Linked DNA regions of Homo sapiens: regions 2 and 3 are each linked to region 1. The links are contacts of gene promoters, found by promoter capture Hi-C in blood cells and fetal thymus (Javierre and others, 2016). All regions are on one chromosome and are shown on one strand. The core of a region is centred on a gene start or on the middle of the fragment in contact, and the rest is flanking DNA. Distances in the headings are between cores, read along the strand shown.

The links. The method cuts DNA at HindIII sites, captures the fragments that hold promoters and counts their contacts. A CHiCAGO score of 5 or more calls a contact.
Region 2: a contact is called between a fragment that was not itself captured here and the fragment with the promoter of C1QA in region 1, in 1 of 17 cell types (endothelial precursors). The highest score is 5.2, in endothelial precursors.
Region 3: a contact is called between a fragment that was not itself captured here and the fragment with the promoter of C1QA in region 1, in 2 of 17 cell types (monocytes and endothelial precursors). The highest score is 5.2, in monocytes.

The regions. Positions count from the first base shown.
Region 1 is chr1:22,633,158-22,637,877 of GRCh38, forward strand. C1QA (complement C1q A chain) reads left to right here and starts at 3,471. Exons shown (of 3, transcript NM_015991.4): 1 at 3,471-3,545; 2 at 4,453-4,622. The coding sequence starts at 4,460. It overlaps MIR6127 (microRNA 6127), which reads right to left and starts at 209; the gene lies at 101-209. The HindIII fragment of the contact is 10,061 bases long and covers 3,134-4,720 here.
Region 2 is chr1:22,439,390-22,444,201 of GRCh38, forward strand. It overlaps a transcript of ZBTB40 not described here. Among named protein-coding and RNA genes, the nearest start is that of ZBTB40, 10 kb to the right of the region's middle. RefSeq lists enhancers at 3,495-4,112, 4,113-4,732. The HindIII fragment of the contact is 4,043 bases long and covers 42-4,084 here.
Region 3 is chr1:22,389,317-22,393,667 of GRCh38, forward strand. No RefSeq gene overlaps it. Among named protein-coding and RNA genes, the nearest start is that of ZBTB40, 60 kb to the right of the region's middle. RefSeq lists enhancers at 725-1,225, 1,226-1,726. The HindIII fragment of the contact is 7,111 bases long and covers 1-4,351 here.

The DNA of each region.
Region 1 (4,720 bases), core at 2,221-4,720:
GGCAGGAGAATCTCTTGAACCCAGGAGGCAGAGGTTGCAGTGAGCTGAGATCCAGCCACTACACTCCCACCTGGGCAAAAAAATGAGACTCTGTCTCAAAAGAAGAAGAAGGAGGAGGAGGAGGAGGAGACTGGAAGGGATGTTAGAGGCCATTTGGGGCAGCCTTCCCACCTCCCACCCACTCCCTCATCTTGGTAGATGGAGAAAGTGGGGTTCAGAAAGATGAGATAACTTGCCCAGGGTCACACTGTGAGTTAGGTATGGGCTGAGCAGATGAGATTCCAGCTCCACGAACTTTCTGAATCCAGGGAGCATGGGAGGGGCTGTCAGGGGGAGCTCTGGGCCCCCACCCTTCAAGCCAGTATCCCCATTTTTATCTGTTTGACATACATCAGATGCCACACAAGATTGCAAATGAAAAAGAAGTCCCCAAAGCTCAAAAACCCTGGCTCTAGACCATCCTTCATCTGCCCACTTCAACAGCCTTCCCTTATCTCCTCCCTCCTCCTCCTCTTTTCCTCCTCCTGCCTCTGGCAAAATTTTCAGAAAACAAACAAACAAACAAAAACATGCTCATGAGAAGAAGCAGACAGATGTGGTCAGCCCAGGCCTGAACACATTGGTCTCCAGTCTGGGAGAGACAGAGCCTCTCTATCTAAAGAAAAGCATTCTCAGGGTCCAAGCTGACAATGATGCAGTGTGCCGTGCTGACAGGTAATGAGCATCCCATCAGTTAAGGTGAGTAAGGCTAGATGATCTGTTCAAACACTAGCAGCAATTGTCTCTAGATGGTAGAATTCACAGGCTTTTGTTGCTGGGTTTTGTTTTTTGTTTTTTTTTGAGATGGTGTTACAGGATCTTTGGGGTGTCATTTTCTGGCCGGAAACCTCTGTGGCTGGTGGCACCTTTGCCCAAGTTTTGCTCAGGCCCACTGGGCTTGTTTCACTCACTCCTCCTGGCAGGCAGCACTCAGCTCACATTACCAGCCTGGGTTCCACATCTGCCCAGGGCAAGTCAGGCATGGAACAGTGAAGGGTGTGTGAGTGAACATGGGGTCTGGCCACTGCACACAGTCAGACATGCCGGCTGCTGCAGCGGGGTGAGCAGCTCCAGGTGCCAGCATGGGCGCCAGCTCTCTGAGAGGTTGTGGCTAGACCAAGTACACCACAAGCAGCTTCCACAGCTGGCACCGGGGAACACGGTGGCACCCAGAAGCTTCGAGATGCCAGGAACCACAGGGCCCCGAAAAGGGAGTCACAGCTCCAGCTTGGGGAGCTCCCAGGTCTGGGTTCCCCAGAGGGCCGCAGCTCTTCTTTCCTTCCCTTCACCTGCATCATGGCAAGCAAGGGGCATGTTTCAGCCTTGTTTGTGTTACAGCTCTTTCAGCCCCACCATTTGATGGGTCCCAAGTTCTTATCCTGCAACCAGGAAGAATGAGGTATGCAGACAAGTGGGGAGTGAGCAAGACGAAGAGGAGCTTTACTGAGCGATAGAACAGCTCAGCCTCCTGCAGAGCCTCCCTCAGGGGGCAGCTCCTTTCCACAGCCAGGGTGTCCTGATGAGTGTTCAGCTGCTAGCAGAGAGGAGACCCTGGAATGGGAAGCTCCTCTCTGCAGGCAGGTCATCCTGTCGACTTTCCAGCTCTCAGAAGAGGGAAGACCCTGGAATGGGAAGCTCCTTTCTGCAGGCAAGTTGTTCTGCCATCTCTGCAGCTCTCAGCAGAGAGGAGGCCCTGGAGCGGGTAGCTCCTCTCGGCAGCTGGTCATCCAATGTCTGCCCAGCTCTGGCTGAGCCTGAAGCTTTCATGAGCCTCAGAGAGGAGGAAGTGCATACTGATTGGTCCATGGGTGGCTATAGGCAAGCCCAGAAAATACACCATAAGTTCCCACTCTGGTGTGTGGGACTGGCAGCCTGGCCCCCAGCCTTGAGGCCCTCCCTGGCTTGAAGGTAGGGCCTCACCAGGGACCCATCCCCTTCCACCCAGGAGCCTGTCTGTCTCCTGCTGCTGTTCATGGTGCCCAGGCTGTTCATGCCAAGGAGCGTCTGCAGGCCAGTGCCGAGCTGCCCTCAGTTTCCCCTTGGCTTTCCTTCCATGCTAGTCAGTGCCCAAAGTCCAGAGGGGGCCAAGGCAGCAGGGGTCTAGTGTGTCAGCACTGCCCCAAGCATGCCCACACCCAGCCAGGCTGCGACAGCACCCAGGCTCAGCACCAACTTTGCTCTAAGATCAGAGTGGGCGCCAAGAGGAGGGAGAAGCCAGGCAGTGGGAGCAGACACTTCTGAGCCTGAAGGGTGGGGCGGGGGGCCTTCCCGGGCCCCCAAGATTGCAGGGATGCCTGGGTCCACAGCTGCAGTTTAGGCAGCTGCAGCTGCATGGGGGATGGCGGGGGCCCCCACCTGCTCCATGAAGCAGGATCAGCTGTGGTTTGGCAGCTGCAGTGGTTCCCAGGAGGGCGGGGTTCCCACTGTCCCCAGCTCCCACTGGCTACATGGAGCATGCAGCCCTGGCCGTGCCTCCCTGCTGCAGCCAGTGTGATGACAGCAGCCATTCCAGACGGCCCGCCATTGCCATCTCTTTTTTTTTTTTTTTTTTTTGAGATGGGGTCTTGTTCTGTCTCCCAGGCAGGAGTGCAGTGGTAAGATCAAAGCTCACTGCAGCCTCAACCTCCTGGGCTCTAGCAATCCTCCCAGCTCAGCCTCCCAAATAGCTGGGACTACACAGGTGCATGCTACCACACCTGGCTATTTTTTAAATTTTTAGTAGAGATGGAGTTTCACCATGTTGGCCAGGCTGGTCTCGAACTCCTGACCTCAAGTGATCCGCCTGCCTTGACCTCCCAAAATGCTGGGATTACAGGCGTGAGCCAAAGCACCTAGACTTGCTGTTTTTTTAAATGTTGGCAAAAGCTAGTGACTAAGTGTTCACCATGTGCCAAGTGTTTTGTATGTGCAAGTCATTAAAATGTTATAATAATCAGATGATATAGGACCCCGTTCCCAGTGTACAGATAAAACTGAGGGCTCAGGAGGTCAAGTAATTTCCCAAAGACATGCAACTAGGAAGCAGCAAGTCTAGAAACAGATTGCTGTGCTTCCTTCTCACCAATGCACTGTTCTTTCTTCTTTGTATTTTCCAAGCTTTTGGCAATGAATTGCATGTCACTTTCATAATCATGAAAAGTCCTACAAGGGACAGATTTTTTTAAAGATTCCTTCCGCTCTGGTGTTCTGTGCTTCGCTGGTTCTCAGAACCTCACCCTGCACGGCCTCCACCCCACATCCTCACAGGCACTGGCCTCACTGCCCCCACTCCCACACCAGCTGTTGCTGGGGCAGGACGCCCAATGTCCCAGTCTTGCTGAAGTCTGCTTGAAATGTCCCTGGTGAGCTTCTGGCCACTGGGGAAGTTCAGGGGGCAGGTCTGAAGAAGGGGAAGTAGGAAGGGATGTGAAACTTGGCCACAGCCTGGAGCCACTCCTGCTGGGCAGCCCACAGGGTCCCTGGGCGGAGGGCAGGAGCATCCAGTTGGAGTTGACAACAGGAGGCAGGTGAGGCCAGAGTCCCAGAGGGAGGGGGCTGCAGAGTTCTGGGACCCAGGGGAGCTGGCCCAGGAGGCTGGGCAGCTGAGGCAGGGAGGGAGGGAAATAACTGTGCCTGATTCTAGGACAGGGATGGGGGTGCAGCACTGATCCAGGACCCAGAATGGGTGAGTGGAGGGACCTTAACTCCTTGAGCCAGGGCTTGGGGGAGGGTGAGAGGCGATGAGTTAGACCTAACAACTGAAGGGTAAGACCAGGGTTCCTGGGTCCTGGCCCCATAACACATAAGAAACCAGGAAAAGCCTGGGGTGCTAGAGCTGGCAGTGGGACCCAGCAGAGGGGACTGTAGGGGCAGCCAGTCACCCATGCTCAGGTGGATGCTGAAAGGCGCTGAGCATGCAGAAGAGTGAGCAGGTGTCGCTTTGGGCGTTTGTGAATTCCTGTGTGTATGCAGAGCTCCACCATCTGGGTGAGCCAGTGTTAATTAAATAAGGAGCAGGCGCTCAATACATATTTGTTCAATGAAATCGATTACCTGTGGGAGTGTATGAATGTGTGTGTCCGTGCAAGTGAGGGACAGGGTCTATTTGGGTATCAGTTGTGTGTCTAGGGGGGTATAGTGGATTTCTGAGTTTGCCTACTGTGTTTTGTAGGTGCGTGGATGAGAGCTGTGTTTGTGTGAGTGTGTGAAGATGTGGGTGTGCTCTGTTGCATGTGTGGATGTGTGTGAGTTTGTGGTTCTGTGTATATGCGTGGGGTCCTGGGGCTGGATTGAGAGTGGACATTGAGAGCCCCAGAGGGTGCATGTGCACTTGGGGAGGACTGTGCATATATCATTGTGTGCATGGGACTCAAGGGTGGGAGCTGGGTGTGAGTGTGATGTCCAACCTGCCCAGGCCCTCCCGTGTCTCCACAGAGGCATCATGGAGGGTCCCCGGGGATGGCTGGTGCTCTGTGTGCTGGCCATATCGCTGGCCTCTATGGTGACCGAGGACTTGTGCCGAGCACCAGACGGGAAGAAAGGGGAGGCAGGAAGACCTGGCAGACGGGGGCGGCCAGGCCTCAAGGGGGAGCAAGGGGAGCCGGGTAAGCACCCTTCCTCGGGACCCAGCCCCTTGGACCTTGGCCTGACTTGGCCTCCAGGGTGAAGGCTTGGGGTGGCACTGAGAATCAGGAGTCCGTCT
Region 2 (4,812 bases), core at 813-3,312, 200 kb before region 1:
GCCATCATATTCAAGAAACCATTACCAAATCAATGTTGCAAAGCTTTTGCTTCATGTTTTCTTCTAAGAGTTTTATAGTTTAGGTCTTACATTTATGTGTTCAATTCATTTTGAATTAATTTTTGTATACGGTGTTAAATAAGGGTCCAACTTTATTCTTTCATATGTAGTTTTCCCAGCACCATTTGCTGAAAAGAAACTATTCTTTCCTCATTGAATGGCCTTGGTGTCTTTGTCAAAAATTATTTGACCATATATGGGGAACATTTATTTCTAAGCTCTTTATTCTACTCCATTAGTGTTTGTGTCTTTCTTTATGCCAGTACCACACTGTTTTGATTACTGTAGCTCTGTAGTAAGTTTTGAAATGAGGAAGCATGAGTCCTCCAGCATTGTTCTTTTTTAAGATTGTTTTGGCTATTTGGAGACCATTAATATTCCATATAAATGTTAGAATGTGTTCTTTTTCTATTCTTGCAAAAAATGTCATTGGTGTTTTGTATTGAATCCATAGATAGCTTTTGGTAATATTAACATCTTAGCAATACTAAGCCTTCCAATCCATTAACATGGGACGTGTTTCCATTTATTTATGTCTTCTTTAATTTCTTTCAGTAATGTTTTATAGTATCCATTGTAAAGTCTTTCACCTCCTTGGTTAATTCCAAATTATTTTATTCTCTTTGACACTATTGTAAATGGAACTGTTTTTGTAATTTCCTTTTCAGATGTTCATTGTTAATATATAGAAATACAACTGATTTTTGTGTGTTGACTTTGTATCCTGCCACTTTGTTAAATTCATTTATTAGCTCTAACAGGTTTTTTTGGTGGAATCTTTACGGTTTTCTATATGTAAGATTATATCATCTGCAAATAGAGGTAATTTTACTTCTTCCTTTCCAATTTGAATGCCTTTTATTTTTTTCTTCTTGCCTAATTGCTCTGACTAAAACTTCTAATACTAAGCTGGATGAGGTGGCATGCCTGTAGTCCCAGCTATGTGGGAGGCTGAGGCAAGTGAATTGCTTGAGCCCAGAAGTTTGAGTCCAGCCTGGGAAAAATAGCAAGAGCCCGGTCTCCAAAACACAAACAAAACAAGTAAAACTTCTAATACTATTTTGAACAAAAGTGGTAAAAGTGGAGATCCTTGTCTTGTTCCTGATCCTAAGGAAGAGCTTTCAGTCTTTCACCACTGAGTATGAGGTTTGCTGTGCATTTTTTATATATGGCTTTTATTGTGTTGAGGTAGTTCCTTTCATTCCTAGCTTGTTGAGTGTTTTTTTTTTAATCATGAAAGGGTGTTATGTTTTGTCAAATGCTTTTTTAGATGATCAACTGAGATAATCATGTGGTTTTCTTTCCTTCATTCTGTTAATGTGGTATATTACATTGAGCTTTGTATGTTGAACCATCCTTGCATTCCAGGAGTAAATCTCACTTGGTCATTGTGTATAATCCTTTTACTATGCTGCTGAATTTGGTTTGCTAGTATTTTGAGAAATATTTTTATATTAATGTTCATAATGGATATTAGTCTATAGTTTTCTTTTTCTTGTAGTGCCCTTGTCTGGCTTTGGTATCAGGGTAATGCTGGCTTCATAGAATGAGTTGGGAAGTGTTTCCTCCTCCTCAATTTTTTGGAAAATTCTGAAAATAATTGGTATTAGTTGTTCTTTTCATGTTTGGTAAATTCACCTGTAAAGCCATTTGGTCCAGGGCTTTTCTTTGTCAGGATATTTTTGATTACTGATTCAATCGCCTTACTGATTATAGGTGTGTTCAGATTTTCTATTTCTTTGTGATTTCATCTTGGTAGGTTTTGTGTTTCTGGGAATTTATACATTTCATCTAGGTTATCCAATTTGTTGGTATACAATTGTTTGTAGTACTCTCTTATACTCCATTTTATTTCTCTAGAATTAGTAGTAATGTCCTTGAGTCTCCTCTTTTATTCTTAGTCTGTCTAGCTAAAGATTTGTCAATTTTGTTCTTTTCAAAGAACCAAGTTTCAGTTTATTTTTTCCTATTGTTTTTCTGTTCTCTCTTGTTTCTCTCTGCTTCAGTCTTTATTATTTGCTTTCTTTTTTTTTTTTTTTTTTTTTTGAGACAGAGTCTCATTCTGTCACCCAGGTTGGAGTGCAGTGCAGTGGCATGATCTCAGCTCACTGCAACCTCCACCTCCTGTGTTCAAGTGATTCTCCTACCTCAGCCTCCCAAGTAGCTGAGATTACAGGCCTAAACCACTGCACCCGGCTAATTTTTGTATTTTTGGTAGAGACAGGGTTTCACCATGTTGGCCAGGCTGGTCTCAAACTCCTGACCTCAGATGATCTGCCCACCTCACCCTCCCAAAATGCTGGCATTACAGACATGAGCCACTGTGCCTGGCCATTATTATTTGCTTTCTTTGCTAGCTTTGAGTTTAGTTTGTTCTTCTTTTTCTAGTTCCTAAAGTTGTGAAGGTAAGTTGTTGATTTTAGATCTTTCTTGTTTTTTAATGTAAGCATTTATACACATAAATTTACCTCTTAACAACTGCTTTTTCTACATTACACAAGTTTGGGTATATTGTGTTTTCATTTTCATTCTTCTCTAAGTATTTTTTAATTTCTCTTCTAATGTTTTCTTTGATTCATTGGTTGTTTAAGAATGCGTTGTTTAATCTCCACAAATTTGTGCATTTTCCACTTTTACTTCTATTAGTGACTTCTAACTTCATTCCATTATGGTAGGAGAAGATACTTTATATGATCTTTATCTTTTTAAGTCTATTGAGACTTACTTTTTGGCCTAACATATAATCTATCCTGGAAAATGTCTCATGTGCACATGAGAAGAATGTGTGTGCAGTGGTGTGTAGACTGTTCTGTATATTTCTGTTAGATCTGTAAGGTTAGCCGAGAGAAAGGACAAGAGAGAGAGAGACCCAAGGTCAGGCAAGAAAGTTTATTAACCTGCTGGGCTGCTCTGCCACAGTCAGAGGAGGCAGCCCTGAGCTTACAAAATGATGGGTTTATATGGGGGAGAGAGACCCTGGGGTTGTTTGTCGCCACAGTCAGAGGAGGCAGCCCTGAGCTTACAAAATGATGGGTTTATATGGGGGAGAGAGACCCTGGGGTTGTTTGTCGGTTAACTTTACCACATATCATCTTGAGAACTGCTTACAATATAGGAATTTATAAGAGGGTGTAACTTAGGTTTATCCATGTTTCTTGTGACCTCCCCCATGCCACCCGGAGGGCTGTAAGCAAGTCTGGTGACCTTGCTGTAGCACCTAGATAAAGGTCCAGGAATGCAGCTGCAGAGTATTCAGGGTAAGGGTCAGCTGCATTGGGTGGAGGTGGGGAGTCCTGGGGCAGCTTGTCCCTAACAAGATCTAGTTGGTTTATTGTGTTCTTATCTCCTATATGGTTGTTCTATCCATTGTTGAGAGTGGGGTAGCAAAGTCTCCAACTGTATTGAAGAACTATATCATTCTCCCTTCAATTCCGTCCATTTTTGCTTTACATATTTTGATGGTGTGTAAGTGGGTGCATAAATATTTATAATTACTACATCTTCCAGTTGTATTTAATCTGAAGGCTCCCACACTTTTGTGAGTTTTACCTCCTGGAGCTCTGGCCAGGTTCTCAGAGTGAATATCTGAGAAAAATCTCCTGATGCTTCCAACAGGGGAAGAAGAAAAAATAATCATTTCAAAATACTCCAGAACGTTACGTTCTCTCTCGAACAAAGTCTCAACGAAAATTATTTAAACAGAATCTAACCTGCTGGGGTTTTTTGATTAAAAAAGCCAAATACTATAAAATATATAAAGAGGTTTTTCTGAGCCAAATATGAGTGACCATGGCCCGGGGTAGTCTCAAAAGGTCCTCAGAACATGTGCCCAAGGTGATCAGATTACAGTTTGGTTTATTCATTTTAGGGAGACAGAAGCCACAGGCAAAGACATAAATCAATATATGTAAGATATACATTATTTCAGCCCAGAAAGGCAGAACATCTCAAAGCAGGGGCAAGGGCCTTACAGGTGATAGGTGGATTCAAAGAGTTTCTGGTTAGCAATTGGTTGAAAGAGTTAAGCTTTATCTAAAGAGTTGAAGTCAGCAGAAAGAAATGCTTGAGTTAAGATAAGAGTAGTTGTTCTTGTTATGCACATGAACCCCCTAAGTAGCAGGCTTCAGAGAGAATAGATGGTAAATGTCTCTTTTCGGATCTTAAAAGGTGTCAGACTCTTACTTAAATCTCTCCTGGATCCGGAAAAGACCTAGAAAGGGAAGGAGATTCTCTATAGAATGCAAATTTCCCCCGCAAGAGACGGCTTTGCAAGGCCATTTCAAAATATGTCAAAGAAATATATTTTGGGGTAAAATACTTTGATTTCCTTCAGGGCCTGCTATCTGTCAGGTGATGTCAGGTTGGAATTTGGTATCTTATTGCTACAGTCTGTTTTGTCAGTCTTATGATCTCTATTTTAATGTTAATGCTGATCAGTAGTGTATAAACTCCAAAGGTAGGGTGTATAACTAGGCATGTCCAACCTCCCTTCCCATCATGGCTTGAACTAGTTTTTCAGGTTTCTTTGGGATTCCCTTGGTGAAGAATGGGGGTCCCTTTGTTCCAGTAGGTAGTCAGACATAAGCGGGGCAGGAGAGGGACTCCTCCGCCAGGAATGTTAGGTGACCATCAGGTAATGGTCAGGTGGTTGTTACACTGTCTCTCTAAAATAACAATTGGTCGCTGGGTGCGGTGGCTCATGCCTGTAATCCCAGCACTTTGGGAGGCCACGGCAAGTGGATCACTTGAGGT
Region 3 (4,351 bases), core at 612-3,111, 250 kb before region 1:
CTGCAGGCAGACAAGTCCCTGGGGACAAAGCAGTGTCTGTGGGAGCAGAGGGAGGGCCTGGCCATCCGTGTCATGGAAGGAGGAGGCTGTCAGCAGCCCCGTTTTTGTGCCTGGGTTGGGGCTGGAGCCGCTTCTCTGGGCTGGCAGGAGCCTGAGAAGGAGCTGGCAGAGAAGTCCTGAGGGCCCCAGACTGGGCTGCTCTGAATGAATCCAGCTCCCTGCCATTGACCTGGGGTGCACCAGGCTTACCAGTTGCCCCCTCTCATAGCCAGAGATGCATCGGCACCAGGGTCTACCTCATAAAAGGGCAGAGGCAGCTACGCTGGCACAGACACCACCTGGCACAGAGTTTCTCAGGAGACAGCTGAAACCTCAGGGACATATGTTAATAATGCAGACTCCTGGGTCTGTCCCAAACCAAAGGGAGCCCTGGGGAGACTGGAGCTGGGATCTGCATTGCTAATAACTTCTCCAGAAGAGTCTTTTTTTTTTTTTTTTGAGACGGAGTCTTGCTCAGTCACCCAGGCTGGAGTGCAGTGGAGCGTTCTTGGCTCACTGCAAGCTCCGCCTCCCGGGTTCACGCCGTTCTCCTGCCTCAGCCTCCCGAGTAGCTGGGACTACAGGCACCCGCCACCACACCCAGCTAATTTTTTTTTTTTATTTTTAGTAGAGACGGGGTTTCACCATGTCAGCCAGGATGGTCTCAATTTCCTGACCTCGTGATCCACCCACCTCAGCCTCCCAAAGTGCTGGGATTACAGGCGTGAGCCACCGCGCCAGGCCCAGAAGAGTCTTATGTGCTGCCTAAGCCACTCGCAAAGTCCACTTTCATATCTTTGTCCCTAGGACCCAGGCACAGTGGAAGCTGGCAGAGGTGAGACCTCCCCACATTCACTTGGCTCAGCCCAGAGGTGGGGCAGAGGCTGCAGGTCTCCTCTGCTGGATGGGCCTCCTGTCCTAACGAGCCATCCACCTGTGCCCAGGTACACCAGACACATGGCCCAGCCTCTTACATAATCCTAGCCCCTGCTCTGTGAGGCGGAACTGTTACTTTCCCCCTCTTTCTGATGAGGAAACAAGGCCCAGAGAAGTGAAGTCAGCAGCCCAGGATAGGTCAGCAGGAGCCGGGGCCAGGCTGCAAAACTGCTTCTTCTGAATCTGTAGCCTAAGCACAGAACCACAGTGCCCAGCTACCACCTGCAGGGGGTGGAGTCCTGCCTCCACCTTCCGGCCACCCATCCTTTGCCCTGGGTCTGGACCCTGGCATTGGTGGTGGCCATCGGCGCCGACCCATGGCTTGTCATTGTATCCAACACTGAAAACCTACTACCAGCCCTGCTTGGATCAGAGCCTTTAAGTGTAGCCCTTAACAGAAGTCAGTTAATCCCCCTTCCTGCCCCAACACACACACACGTGCATACACACAGGGTTGGCTCTGCCCTCCCTAGGGGTCTCTCCAGCCTCCACCTCCCTCCCCTAACCCCATCCATGCTCTCCGGAAGTTCCCAGCAATCCAGTTGGGACACAGTGAAATAAGCCCCAACCTCTCCGAGGTAGAAAAGGTGGTGCTTGGGCATGAAAATCCCCCTTAGCAGTTATAGAATTTAAAGCTAAGCATCGCCTTTCTTGAAATAGCAAGCATGTAGCTTTTCCCCGTGCATCTGGTGATGGTGTCAGAAACATTAGGGACAGCTTCTATTTGGCCACAGTCGAGCCAACCCTAGACAGTGGTGACCAGGGAGGCCCTGAGAGGCCATTGCAGCCAACGCCTTCATTAACAGATGTTGAGGCTAATGTCCAGTGATGGTCAGGGATTTACCCCAAGTCATATGATGGCATCTAGCTAGGGTTGGAAGCCCACTCCCTCTAGTCCCAGTCCAGCACTCCAGAAGCAGCAAACAGTCTTTGGGACCTCCAGCACAGAGCCCCCTTCCTCAGAACTGCTCCCCCTGCCCAGTGGACAGCTCCAGATGCTGCTCTTCCTGTCCTATCTGTGGCTGTTCACGTTCATGGCTGCTGCCCCCACACCACTCTCTTGCCAGCCCTGTAACCAAACTAAACATTTCTCCATACTTCATTTCATCACCAAATAATAAAAGCAGGCTTATTCCCCCACAATGGAAGTGTTAATTTATTCTCTATCTTGCAGGCCAGCTCAGCCAACATGACCAGGCCAAGCTGAACATGGGAGGCCAGGTGGGCAGCAGCTTTCCAGAGAGCCCAGGGACCAAGGTGTCTTAGCTCTCGGCAGGAGTGCTGGTCTCCATCTCAGCCAACAGCGCAGGAGAGAAGCAGCTCAAACTCCTTCCCTGGTTGGACCAGGGCCAGTAGGCCCTTGTCCTGACAGTCCTCTGGCTGGAAGGCATAGCTTCTCCACGAGGCTGGGATGGGAGGCCCGTCCCAAAGCACCAAATAAAGAGTAATAATAAGCTCACGGTCGGGGGAAAAACCTCTCTAGCAGCCTGGCGCTGCTGGCTGAGCTGCTTCCAGCCCTAGTGGCCCAGATCCCAGGGCTGGCGCTCACCTAATGAGCTGGGCATTGCAAAGCTGGGCTCCCCCACCACCTGTGTTGAGATGAATCATCCATTGCGGGTATCTCCATCTTCTGCATCTCTCCTCACACCCACATTGACCCCAGAATCTGGATTGTCATTACCTGTGGCCTTCTACACCAGTGAGGAGCAGGATAACACACTGGTTAAGAGCTAGACTTGGGGCCGGGCGCGGTGGCTCACGCTTGTAACCCAGCACTTTGGGAGGCCGAGGCGGGCGGATCACGAGGTCAGGAGATCAAGACCACGGTGAAACCCCATCTCTACTAAAAATACAAAAAATTAGCCGGGCGTGGTGGCGGGCACCTGTAGTCCCAGCTACTCGGGAGGCTGAGGCAGGGGAATCACTTGAACCTGGGAGGCGCAGGTTGCAGTGAGCCGAGATCGTGCCGCTGCACTCCGCCTGGGCCATAGAGCGAGACTCTGTCGCAAAAAAAAAGGAGCTAGACTTGGAGTCGGCTCCATCCTTTCCTGGCTGTGTGACCTGGGGCAAGTTACTTAACCTCTCTAAGCCTCTCTTTCCTCGGTCAGTAAGATGGGGTAAGAATCATGCCTTCCTCTTTCAAAGAGTGGCTGTAAAGATGAATGAGCTAATAATTTAAAATGCTTAACCCAATGCTGGGCACAGAGTCCAGACAAACAGTGGTGATTAACAACCAATAATACTTGTAGCAGGTGCGTAAGAAAAGTTGTGGAGAGGTGAGTACGGTGGCTCAGCCTGTCTGTAATCCCAGCAACTCTGGAGGCTTAGGTGGGAGGATCACTTGAACCCAGGAGTTGCAGGCTACAGTGATCGTTCCTCTGCACTCCAGCCTGGGCACAGGGCAAGACTCTAACTTTTTTTTTTTTGAGATGGAATCTCGCTCTGTCACTTAGGCTGGAGTGCAGTGGCCAGATCTCGGCTCACTGCAACCTCCGCCTCTTGGGTTCAAGCGATTCTTCTGCCTCAGCCTCCAGAGTAGCTGGGATTATAGGCACCCGCCACCATGCCTGGCTAATTTTTTTTTTTTTTGTATTTTTAGTAGAGACAGGGTTTCACCATGTTGGCCAGGCTGGTCTCGAACTCCTGACCTCGTGATCCGCCCGCCTCAGCCTCCCAAAGTGGAGACTCTGACTTAAAAAAAAAATCGTGGAATGTGGAAGAAGGAGCAATGCCCAGGGCCCAGAGAAGCCAGGCAGGCATCCTTAGAGGCTGTGGGGACAGTCAAACAGGGGCCTGGGCCTGCACAGAGCTGTGGGATGTTCTGGGCGTGCAATGAACCCAAGGCAAGGAGGCAAGAGCTGGAGGGACAAGGGCTCTGCAGCCAGGAGCAAGCTGACGGCTGGGAGCCAGGAAGGTGGGTTGAGCATCAGACTGAGGACCAGGCAAACAGGGTGGGGGTCAGGAGTCCAGCAGGCCAAGGACACAGAACTCAGCAGAATGATGGATTCTAATCCCCGAGTGGGGGCGCTTGCCTTCCATTCTGTTTTAGTGCTTCCTTCTCCAGGAGGGGGTAGGCTAAGGACGTGGATAATTGCAGTGGTCACTGGGGTTACTTCCCCTTCCCCACTACAACGGTCCAGTCCCAGGAAGTGGGACTGATCCCACTCCTATCTCCAGGATAACCAATCAGGGTAATCGGGATTCCCCTACCATCCACAGCAATTGTCCATCAGAGATGGTCTTCTCAGAGCATAGCTCAGAATACCTGTTTCATGGGTATGGGAAGAGTGGTTTCTTTCTCCCAAAAGGGGAAAAAGGAATTGTATCACCCTGGTTTCTGCTGGCAGCATTCCTGTGATTATCAAATAAGCCATTT